Regions from separate parts of the Homo sapiens genome. Here region 1 is linked to region 2. Evidence: promoter capture Hi-C in human tissues and cell types (Jung and others, 2019). All regions are on one chromosome and are shown on one strand. The core of a region is centred on a gene start or on the middle of the fragment in contact, and the rest is flanking DNA. Distances in the headings are between cores, read along the strand shown.

Region 1 (4,777 bases), core at 713-3,212, 1.2 Mb before region 2:
ATTTGCAGGTGGTTTTATTTCTTAATATTATGTTATAGACTGCCATGGAAGTCCACTAATATGATGCCATAAAGAGTATTAACTTTTCCTTGATAGGTAGAGAAAGCTAAAGTAGGGAATTATATGAGAAAGATGATACAAACATAAAGCAGTTTATTTTAATATAAGACATAGAAGGTTGTTAATAGAAATGTGCATTTATTGAGAACCAAGGCCTTTTCTTTAGGAACTTAACTGTTACACATTGGCTTCTCATATATATCTACAATTTCTGGGTTTTGTTTCTTTAAAACAGAGAAAGAAATTTCAAGCTCTTATGAGACAATCCTAGTGCAGAATTCTAGATTTTTTATTGCCTCCCCCCATTTTTACATTTGTTTGAGCCCTACTAAATCCTACAGTAATTAAAAATAACTTCGTTGTTGAGTTTTCTGCTGATTCATCAGTTGGCATAATATTAATTATATAGTTATAATTACAGTTGCAGTTGGCATAACAGGTTTATAATAAAGCACTGTTGACTCTTGGTAAACCTGCAATTTGCAGAAGCTTGTGAGCATCTAGAGAGGAGCTTCTGGCCTCCAGAGTTCTTTCTGTGGCTGTCATTCAGGGAGTTTTGAGGGGCAAAGGGAGTGTGGTTAAAGTGCTTTCTCAGTTCCATGGAGAACCATATGCCTTGAAAGTGAATATTTGTGAACAATTATATTGCACCTTTGTGGGGGCAGTTTCTGATCAAGGAAATTTGTTTGGGGATTGAGTACAAAGTCATGCTGAAGTTTTTGGGGAAATTTCAATGGCTTTAATTAAAAGTATTTATTGTTTTATTTCTCTTTTTCCTGCTTTTCTCTCTCTTATCCTCCCCACCTTCTCTCTTTCTCTTTCCCTCTTCCTTTCTCTTGCTCTCTCTGCCTGTCCCTCATTTATTCCATCTCTTGTTCTTTTATACTGTCTCCTGCTCTGTCCCACCTTGTCTTTTTTTCCCAGGTTGTTATCGTCAGGAGCTGTGCAAACTGATGTGTGAACGGCTAAAACTCAGCACGTGGAAAGTGCAGCTAGGAGTCCTGCAATCAATGAATGCCTTTTTTCAGGGGTAAATTGCTTCATGGCTCAGTTTTTTATTTTGTTCCTCCCCGCAGCATTTTATGTATAATCAATGGAATTTTTATACATTTAAAAACTGGTAGCTAAAGTGACAGTGATACATACAGATAGAAATTGTGACAGGAAAGTTTTAGACTGTTTCTTAATAATTGGCATTTGTACCTTGCTTTCTGATTTGTATAGGTTAATGCTTTTGGAAGAAGAACATGCCGATCCTGAGGCTTTGGCTGAAATTCTGCTTGAAACTTGTAAATCAATCACATATTCTTTAGGTGAGTGTAGTAAACTAAAACTGATGAGGGAGTCCTAATTTTAAAGCTAAGGAGCTGAGCTTCAAATATTTCCTACTTTGTCTTAGGAACTAAATTTCTGAAATAGCTACTGGACTCTGCTACTTATTATACTCCATGTGTACCCCTTAACTGGAATATTTAAATCTGGAACTATAACAGGATTTTAGCATCTAGTTTAGAAAAACCTTCGTGACAAGTATTTTTACAAAATTGTTACTTGAAAGTAATTTCAAACTTACAGAATGGTTGCAACGACAGTACATGTAATACTCTGCAATATGTATACACTTTATGCAGAATCATTTGTTAACATTTTGTGCCATTTGCTTTGTCATTTGGACTTCTATATACATGTTTTTCTCCTGAACCATTTGAAAGTATGTTGCTTACTTCAGGCCCCCTTGTTCCTCAATTATTTAGTGTGCCACGGTACAGTTGTCAACTTTAGGTAGTAAACATGGATGCAGTTTTTTAAATCAAATGTTTATCGTTCATATTCTAGTTTGTTCAGTTGATTCGGTAATGTTCTTTATTTTTATTTTTATTTTTTTTGAGTTGGAGTCTCGCTCTGTCACTCAGGTTGGAGTGCAGTGGTGTGATCTCAGCTCATTGCAACCTCTACCTTCCAGGTTCAAGCAGTCCTCCTGCCTCAGTCTCCCAAGTAGCTGGGATTACAAGTGTGTACTGTCACGCCCAGCTGATTTTTGTATTTTTGTAGAGACAGGGCTTCACGAAGTTGGCCAGGCTGGTCTCAAAACTCCTGAGCTCAAGCAGTCCACCTGCCTTGGCCTCCCAAAGTACTGGAGTTATAGGCATGAGCCACCACACCCAGCCAGTAATGTTCTTTATAGGATTTTTTCCCCCTCCCCTCCATTAGGGAATCCAGTCCAGGTGATGATGATGATGATGATGATGATGATGATGATGATAATGGTTATTATTATTTTTGAGACAGGGTCTTGCTCTGTCACCCAGGCTGGAGTGCAGTGGCGTGATCTTGGCTCACTGCAACTCTGCCTTCTGGGTTTAAGTGATTCTCCTGCCTCAGTTTCCCAAGTAACTGGAATTACAGGTGTGTGCCATCATGCCTGGCTAATTTTTGTATTTTTAGTAGAGACGGGGTTTCACCATGTTGGCTAGGCTGGTCTTGAACTCCTGACCTCAAGTGATCTGCCCGCCTTGGCCTCCAGGATTATTTATTGAATTTTATTGTCATATATTTTTAGTCTCCTTCAATCTGGAATACTTCGTCAGCCTTTCTTTGTCTTAGGACATTGACAATTTTGAAGAATAAAGTCCCCCCGACTTCCCTTTTTGAAAAAACAGAATGTTTCTCATTTGGTGTTTGATGTTTTCTCATGATTATATCCAGGTTGTGAATTCCCAGTTGGGATACATACATAAGTGATGTGTCCTCACATTAAGAGGCACACAGTGTCCATCTGTCATCATTTGTGATGTTAATTTTGATTACCTGGTCAAGGTACTATCAGTTTTTCTCTACTGGATAGTTACTATGTTTTCTTTTTGTGTCTAATAAGTAGCCTGTGGGAACAGATCTTAAGATCATTCAAGTAATTTGTTTCTCTTCTTTAAAATTTCTTCTCTATATTTAGCATGCATTGATGATTCTTCCCTGAACCAATTTTTACTAAGATGATTTTGCAACTCTAGCACTTTGTCCACATTCACCATTTGATAGTTGGAATTCTGTTGTAAGCAAGATTCTTCTCTTCTGCCCATGTTTTTATTTATCTGTTACTGGCATTGATTCATGGAATCTTTCCCCCTTCAAATGGTTTATAATTTAATTTTTTAAATCTAATTCGTTATTCCAGTTGTCCCAGATTTGGCCAGTGGAAGCCCTTTCAAGCTGCCTCCTGTGTCCTTTTGACAGGTCACCGTCACTCTTTGTAGCACTTTTGTACTTTGTAGCATAACAAGATGATAAGGCCCATCTCATGCCTACCCTGCTTTGGGCTTGGTTGTGTGTTGATTTTTTTGGTAGACAATTTCACCATGAACCAGACGCCGTGTCAAAGAGTGGATGCCAAGGAAGCATGTTTCATTCGCAGTTGTTGGCAGCAGCATCCTTTTATGGATAAAGAACAGGCAGCCAACAGACCTCTCTTTGCTGAGTTCCAGGTGTCCCTGATCGGCTTAAACACTGGGTCATATAATGTTCTTTGGTAAAATGAGGAGGGTCATGTAGACCTAAGGATCGTTCTTATCCGTGATACGAAGATGATTTTGTGTTTGAGATAGTTTTTTCATCTCCCACTTCTAAAATGGATCATTTAAATATTGCCATTTGTTGTGGTGATTGGTATACTTGGCTGACAGGTTTTTGTTTTTCCAAAGTAAAGACTGTGGACATTAGCACACATTTCAAGTATTTGATACTTAGCAAAGGGAAGCTTCCTTTAAAAAAAAAAAATCAGATATACCCTTCCCTAGAGTTGTAATTTCTGGACATCTTTCTTTCAGCAACACAAATTTAATCTTGGAGGTTGTGTTTTTCAGGCAGGCCATATGAACTGTATGATATTTCTTTTTAGAAAATAAGACCTACTCATCTGTGAGAACAGAAGCTTTATCTGTGATAGAATTGCTGCTTAAAAAACTTGAAGGTAAGTTGTTGTTAGTTCTGACTGGGGGACCATAAAGCCATGTGGCATATGTTTTAGAAATTTTTTGTTTCGTTTTTGCTTATACTCTTAAGCATATACTCTGAAATACAAATCAGTATGTATGCACATGCAAGAAGAATGGACAAAGCCAAAACTATTAAATTTTACTAAATATTTAAATTTGATACACTTTTATATATTTTTAATATATTATTAAGCTATAGTTGTCTTAAAGTAATAAAGTTTTTGTTTTCATCGTGAATCCTGATTTAATCTTGGTTAATTACAGGAATTGGTTGACAGTGGCATGTGTACATGTAAATAAGCAGAACGACACACTGAAAAGTGGAGTTGGAAAAACATTTTTAACAGTTATCTACCTGAGTCATCAAATCTGACAGTAGCAATTTTCTTAATCCTATTTCTTCTCCCCTAACCTCTTTTTCTTCTAATGGTCTATCAGTGGGTGGGGTGGGGGGGAACTGTTAGCATTTTCTCCAGTGGTGTATCTGTTACTGACTTCAGAAGGAGGACCCTCTTCTTTTTTCTCTCTCTCTCTCAAATTGTTTTCACGGATTAAGAATGTAGAAGATGGAAACGTTTTTCCTGCAACCTTGTGTATTTGCTCTTTCTACTTCTCTATCTTTGCTTAGCAATTAAAACACCTCTCTTAGGGCTCCATCAAACAGAACTTTTAGACTGAGTAACGCTAAACATCTCCTAATCCCTTTTTTCCTTGTTGAGATAAAAGAG
Region 2 (5,276 bases), core at 1,573-4,072:
AGTGGAAAGAACTCCAAACTGAAGTTCTTCACAAGAACAGGATCCACCACTCCTGTCCTGCCCCCACTGTATACTGGGCTGACCCAGCCTGCTGCTCTCAAGCCAGCTCCCTAAGGGATTCCTTCTTCAAGTCTCTGAGTCTCTACCCACCAATGACTGGTCTTTGTATGGACAGGGTTATTGTCTGAGTCATTCTCTCTGGAGTGGTACCCCAGTTGTGAGTGATACCTGTTGCCACTCAAGTCTCACAGAATAGCTGGATCCCCTGGACAGGAGTGGACCTGGAGCCTCTGGTCTAAGTTATTTTACTGGAAGCTCCAGGGAGGGCTGTAGGGATGCTGGTTCCGGTAATGAACTAACCTGCTACATTAAGCACAGTCTTATCTCTCAACCAGAATGGGACATTTCATGTTCCATACAGTTTACATATATACAGAAAAACAAAATATTCCCTAGAATCACAAGACATCTTATTCCTACTCCAGCGTCTCCAGCCCTGAACAACTTTGAAGCTTATTTCCAGTTCCTCTGAAGGATATACCTGGATAATGAAAGTCACCCATTTAGTGGCAGCCACCCAGAACAAACTCCAGGCTTGATCATCTTTTTTCATTTATTTCTGAAGACTCCCTGGGATGAGATAGAGTTGCCAGTTTTTTCTTATACTATTGTTATTGTTATCACAGACCAAGGAAAGGAAAGTTTATTCAGTAAGTGCTATTGAAACAACTGGTCAATTATTTGGAGGAAAAAACCCCTAGATCCTTGCCTTATACCTAACACAACACCAAAATAAATTTCAAATGGATTAAAGATTTGAGTTTTAAAAGAAAGAGGAACTATATGAACTAAAAGAAGGAATTTAAGCTCCTAAAAGGCATTCAATCAGCAGTAGACAGCCTCAATTTACTTCTCATCAAAATATCCACAAACGCACCCATATAGAAAAAGACAAAAACTGTTAATACTAAAAGATGAAGGCTGACAAGTAAATGCGAAAATATAGTAGAAATTTCTACTGCCATTATTTCTCTCCTCCTCTTCTCTTCTCTTCTCTTCTCTTCTCTTCTCTTCTCTTCTCTTCTCTTTTCTTTCTGAGACAGGAGCTCACTCTGTTACCCAGGCTGAAGTACAGTGGTGCAATCATGGCTCATTTCAGCCTCGAGCTTCTGGGTTCAAGTGATCATCCCACCTCAGCCACCCGAGTAGCTCGGACTACAGGCATGTGCCACCATGCCTGGCTAATTTTTGTAGATACAGAGTTTCACTATGTTGCCCAGGCTGGTCCTGAACTCCAGGGCACAATCAATACACCCACCTCAGCCTCCCAAAGTGCTGGGATTACAGTTGTGAGCCATTGTGGCCAGCCTACTGCCATGATGTCTACTGCCATGATTTCATGGCAGGTGCAGCTGGTCCAGCATGGATGGGTTGCTCTTGCCTTCATGATAGAGTGATCTACCGATAAAAAGGTATGAGGAAGCTTTGGCTATCTCTCTCGGTATTTTTTTGAGACAGATTGAGCTCTAATCCAATGTGATTGCTGTACTTATAAAAAGGGGAAAATTGGGCACAGAGACACCCACATAGGAAGAACATCATATTAGGCCGGGTGTGGTGGCTCACGCCTGTAATCCCAGCACTTTGGGAGGCCAAGGCGGGCGGATCACAAGGTCAGGAGATCGAGACCACGGTGAAACCCTGTCTCTACGAAAAATACAAAAAATTAGCTGGGCGCGGTGGCGGGTGCCTGTAGTCCCAGCTACTCGGGAGGCTGAGGCAGGAGAATGATGCGAACCCGGGAGGCAGAGCTTGCAGTGAGCTGAGATTACGCCACTGCACTCCAGCCTGGGCGACAGAGTGAGACTCCCTCTCAAAAAAAAAATAAAATAAAAAAATAAAAAGGAAGAACATCATGTCAAGATAAAGGCAGAGATTAGGCAATGTTTTTGCAAGCCAAAGAATACCAGAGATTGCTAGCAAACCATCAGAAGCAAGGTGAGAGGCATGGAACAGATACTCTCACACAGCTCCAAGAAGAAACCAACCCTGCTCACACCTTGACTTTGGACTTCTAACCTCCAGAACTCTGAGACAATAATGTTTGTTGTTTAAGACATCCAGTTTGTGGGATTTCGTTATGGCAGCCCTAGCAAAACTAACATATACTACCCAGTGAAGATTTGCTCTCCATCTTCCACGGCTCCCCCACATCAAATGACTAGATCTTGTCTGGTTAATGTCCAAAATGTCTTGTAGGTTCAGGCTCTACTCTGTTTCCATTGCCTCTGTAGACATATTGGGTAATTGGGTAATCAGTAAGCACCGTGATAGGAGAAGATAGAAAGGGACTTAGTTGACCAAATGCAGCAAGGCTAGGTCAAAGCTGGTGTAAGAGGGAGAGGGTCTGGGATTCAAAAGCAATGTGGAAATGTTGAGGCTGGCAAGCAGAGAGTGAGGGGATGCCTAACTTACCACTTGGTTGGAGAATGCTGAGACGGCAGAGGCTGCACCAAATGTCCAAGGGGTAGGGCTGGCCCGAGGCCAAGATTCCCCTGGGCTCTGTCCCATGGCTGACTTTAGGGCTGAATTTTCACCTGGGGTGTGTGTTGGGGTCTGAGTGGAGATCTTGGGGAGATCTTTGCTACTGGGTTTCTTTAGGGTGTGGCCGCGGGGCACACATCCAGAGGCACCGACCTTGTGAAGCTCCCGAGGGTGTTCTTTGAACTACTGCAAACCCAACCGGCAGGTTTGCTGAAAAGTGGCCACGTTCCAGTCCAAAATGTGTGAGCAGAGCGCGAGCTTAGCACTCCCCAGCCCCAGTCCCAGCTCTGCCAGGAAAGGGGAGACTTCACCGTGGCACTGGGAATTGGATTCTAAACTTTAGGATCAAGCAATGGAAGGACCTGGAATAAGACACCTTCTTGACCCCCCTGAAGGGCTCTGAGCAGCTGGGCTTGCCTTTCTCTTTGCTCCCCCAGTCCTCCCCTTACTTCTCGGTCTCCCACTCCCCATCACTCCTTTCCCTGCCTCCTCCTGCCTGTCTCCATCTTCCTCCCTCTCTTTCTTCTCTCGCCCCATTAATCCCCGCTTGTCACTATCACCTCCTTCCTCCAGTCTTTCCCCCTTCGCTGCCCCTTCTTTCCTCTGACATTTCCTTCTCCTCTTACTGCCACTGTCTCCCACCTTTCTCCTCCCCCACATTTCTCCCTATCCCTACCTCCTCTTCCCCTTCATCTTTCTCCTTCCCCCTTATTTTTCTATCTCCTTCCTCAGTCCCACTCCTCTTTCCACCCTCCTTTTGCCCGTCACTTCTCCTTCTCCCTCACTGCCCCCTCCCTCTCTCTCCCCTCCCCAGGTCCTGCCCCACCCAGCTGTGTTTGCTTTTCTCCCGGATCCGGATGGAGGGGTTGCCCTGCCCGTGCCCAGCCCTGCCCCACTTCTGGCAGCTTAGGTCTCACTTAATGGCTGAGGGCTCCAGGACTCAGGCCCCTGGGAAAGGGCCCCCACTCAGCATCCAGTTCCTGCGAGCCCAGTATGAAGGCTTGAAGAGGCAGCAGAGGACCCAGGCCCACCTCCTGGTGCTTCCAAAAGGTAGGAATGGACAGGTGCTGGGGAAGGAGAGACTTACCATGGGAGACCTGAGTGGCAGAGCTGCAGGGAGGCAGAGCCAGGGCTTTGCCAGCCCTCCCTCCCAGTGGGGAAGAGCAGGGGAGGCGGGCTCAGGGCAGCTCTGCTCAGCTGTCCCACCTGCTAAGGGAGCCAGGGGCCTCAGCCAAGCACCTGGCTGCCAGCACTGTTCCTGGCCTCTGCTCTGATGTTCTAATCTTGCTAGACTGGTCAGCCTGGTGAGCCAGGCTTGGCCCCCCTGCTAGCCCAGGTATGGCGATAGGAGCTCTGCTTCCTGGCTGGGTCTAACTAAGGCACCTCCTACAAACCAGAGAAATTCACTCTGGAGGTAGAAGACATGGCGTTCCCAACAGCCTGGGAACTGTCTGGGCCAGAGGACGCCTAGGGCTCAGAGACCCATGAGGCATCCCAGGCTCATCCAGCCTCAAACATCAGGCAGGGAGGTGTGATTGGACACAGAAACCCCCTCATGGGGAGAAACCTCCTCCCTTTAGGAACTCAGATTTCATTCCAGGAGGGAGTTAGAGGCACAGGGCTCAGAAAGCAAGGGCATGTCAAATCCCAGCCCTTCCTCCTCTAACAGAGGAACAGGTTGAGGGAGAAGGGAAGATACCCTGAAAGGTCAAAGCTGGGCTCTGTGGGATTCTGTGGTTATTTGTAGAGTTCAGTAGACTCTTTGGGCTGCCCTTTGCCAGGCCAGACTGGGCAGGAATCAGGGGCCAGAGGGACCTCTCTGTCTAGGGCAGGAAGTGTGCTGCCTTTTGGGAACAAAAGTGGCACCTCTGAGCTGAAGGAGCCCATCTCCCATTACCTGGGCTGTTGCCAACCAATGGAATCCTCGTTCCTGGCAGGAGTGAACTGGCACAGCCAAACAGTCACCATCTCTGCAGGGCATAAACTGAAAGGTTCCTAAAGCTCTATCCCACCCTTGAGGGTATTTATTCATTCAGTTATTCAACAAACATTTATCAATTTAAATCCCTATCAAATGGAAACACAATGCTTAATACACCTGCAATTCAGACTCACAAATCTAATTGCTTAGTGGGGATGATCCAAAGACATCTCAAATTCAACATGCCCCCAGAGAATTCACTATACCCTGTGCTCGTCCTTTCTCCTGCTCTTGGTAACTCGGTACCCCCTTTCCCATCATTACTAGGTGCTAAATTATGGTTCATGCAAGGAGTGCCCAGGTGTGGCTTTCTCCGAGAAGACTTCTGACCTCCCAGCTAGGTCAGGGTCATTCAGGGCACTTTCAGCAGTTTGCAGTTCCACATTTTTTTTTTTTTGAGACAGATTCTCACTCTGTTGCCCAGGCTGGAGTGCAGTGGGGTGCAATCTCGGCTCACTGAAACCTCTGCCTCCCGGGTTCAGGCAATTCTCCCTGCCTCAGCCTCCTGAGTAGCTGGATTACAGGCACCTGCCACCATGCTCGGTTAATTTTTGTATTTTTTTTAGTAGAGATGGGGTTTCACCATGTTGGCCAGGCTGCTCTTGAACTCCTGACCTCAGGTGATCCACCCACCTCGACCTTCAAAAGTGCTGGGCGTGAACCACCATACTTGGCTGAGTTCCACATTCTTTATCTAACTGTGAGAGGCAGCATACTGTGTAATGGAGTGGTCATGTACTGGGTCTTGGAG

What was found. Contacts are between HindIII fragments. The study calls those that stand out against the background at their distance.
Region 1: a fragment that was not itself captured here is called in contact with the fragment with the promoter of C9orf152 in region 2 in 1 of the 25 tissues and cell types used here (spleen).

The regions. Positions count from the first base shown.
Region 1 is chr9:111,362,835-111,367,611 of GRCh38, reverse strand. It overlaps ECPAS (Ecm29 proteasome adaptor and scaffold), which reads left to right. Exons shown (of 50, transcript NM_001364929.1): 47 at 985-1,090; 48 at 1,285-1,373; 49 at 3,953-4,024. Among named protein-coding and RNA genes, the nearest start is that of OR2K2, 35 kb to the right of the region's middle. The HindIII fragment of the contact is 3,873 bases long and covers 26-3,898 here.
Region 2 is chr9:110,205,705-110,210,980 of GRCh38, reverse strand. C9orf152 (chromosome 9 open reading frame 152) reads left to right here and starts at 2,822. Exons shown (of 2, transcript NM_001012993.3): 1 at 2,822-3,594. The coding sequence starts at 3,402. RefSeq lists enhancers at 3,152-3,652, 3,653-4,153. The HindIII fragment of the contact is 9,571 bases long and covers 999-5,276 here.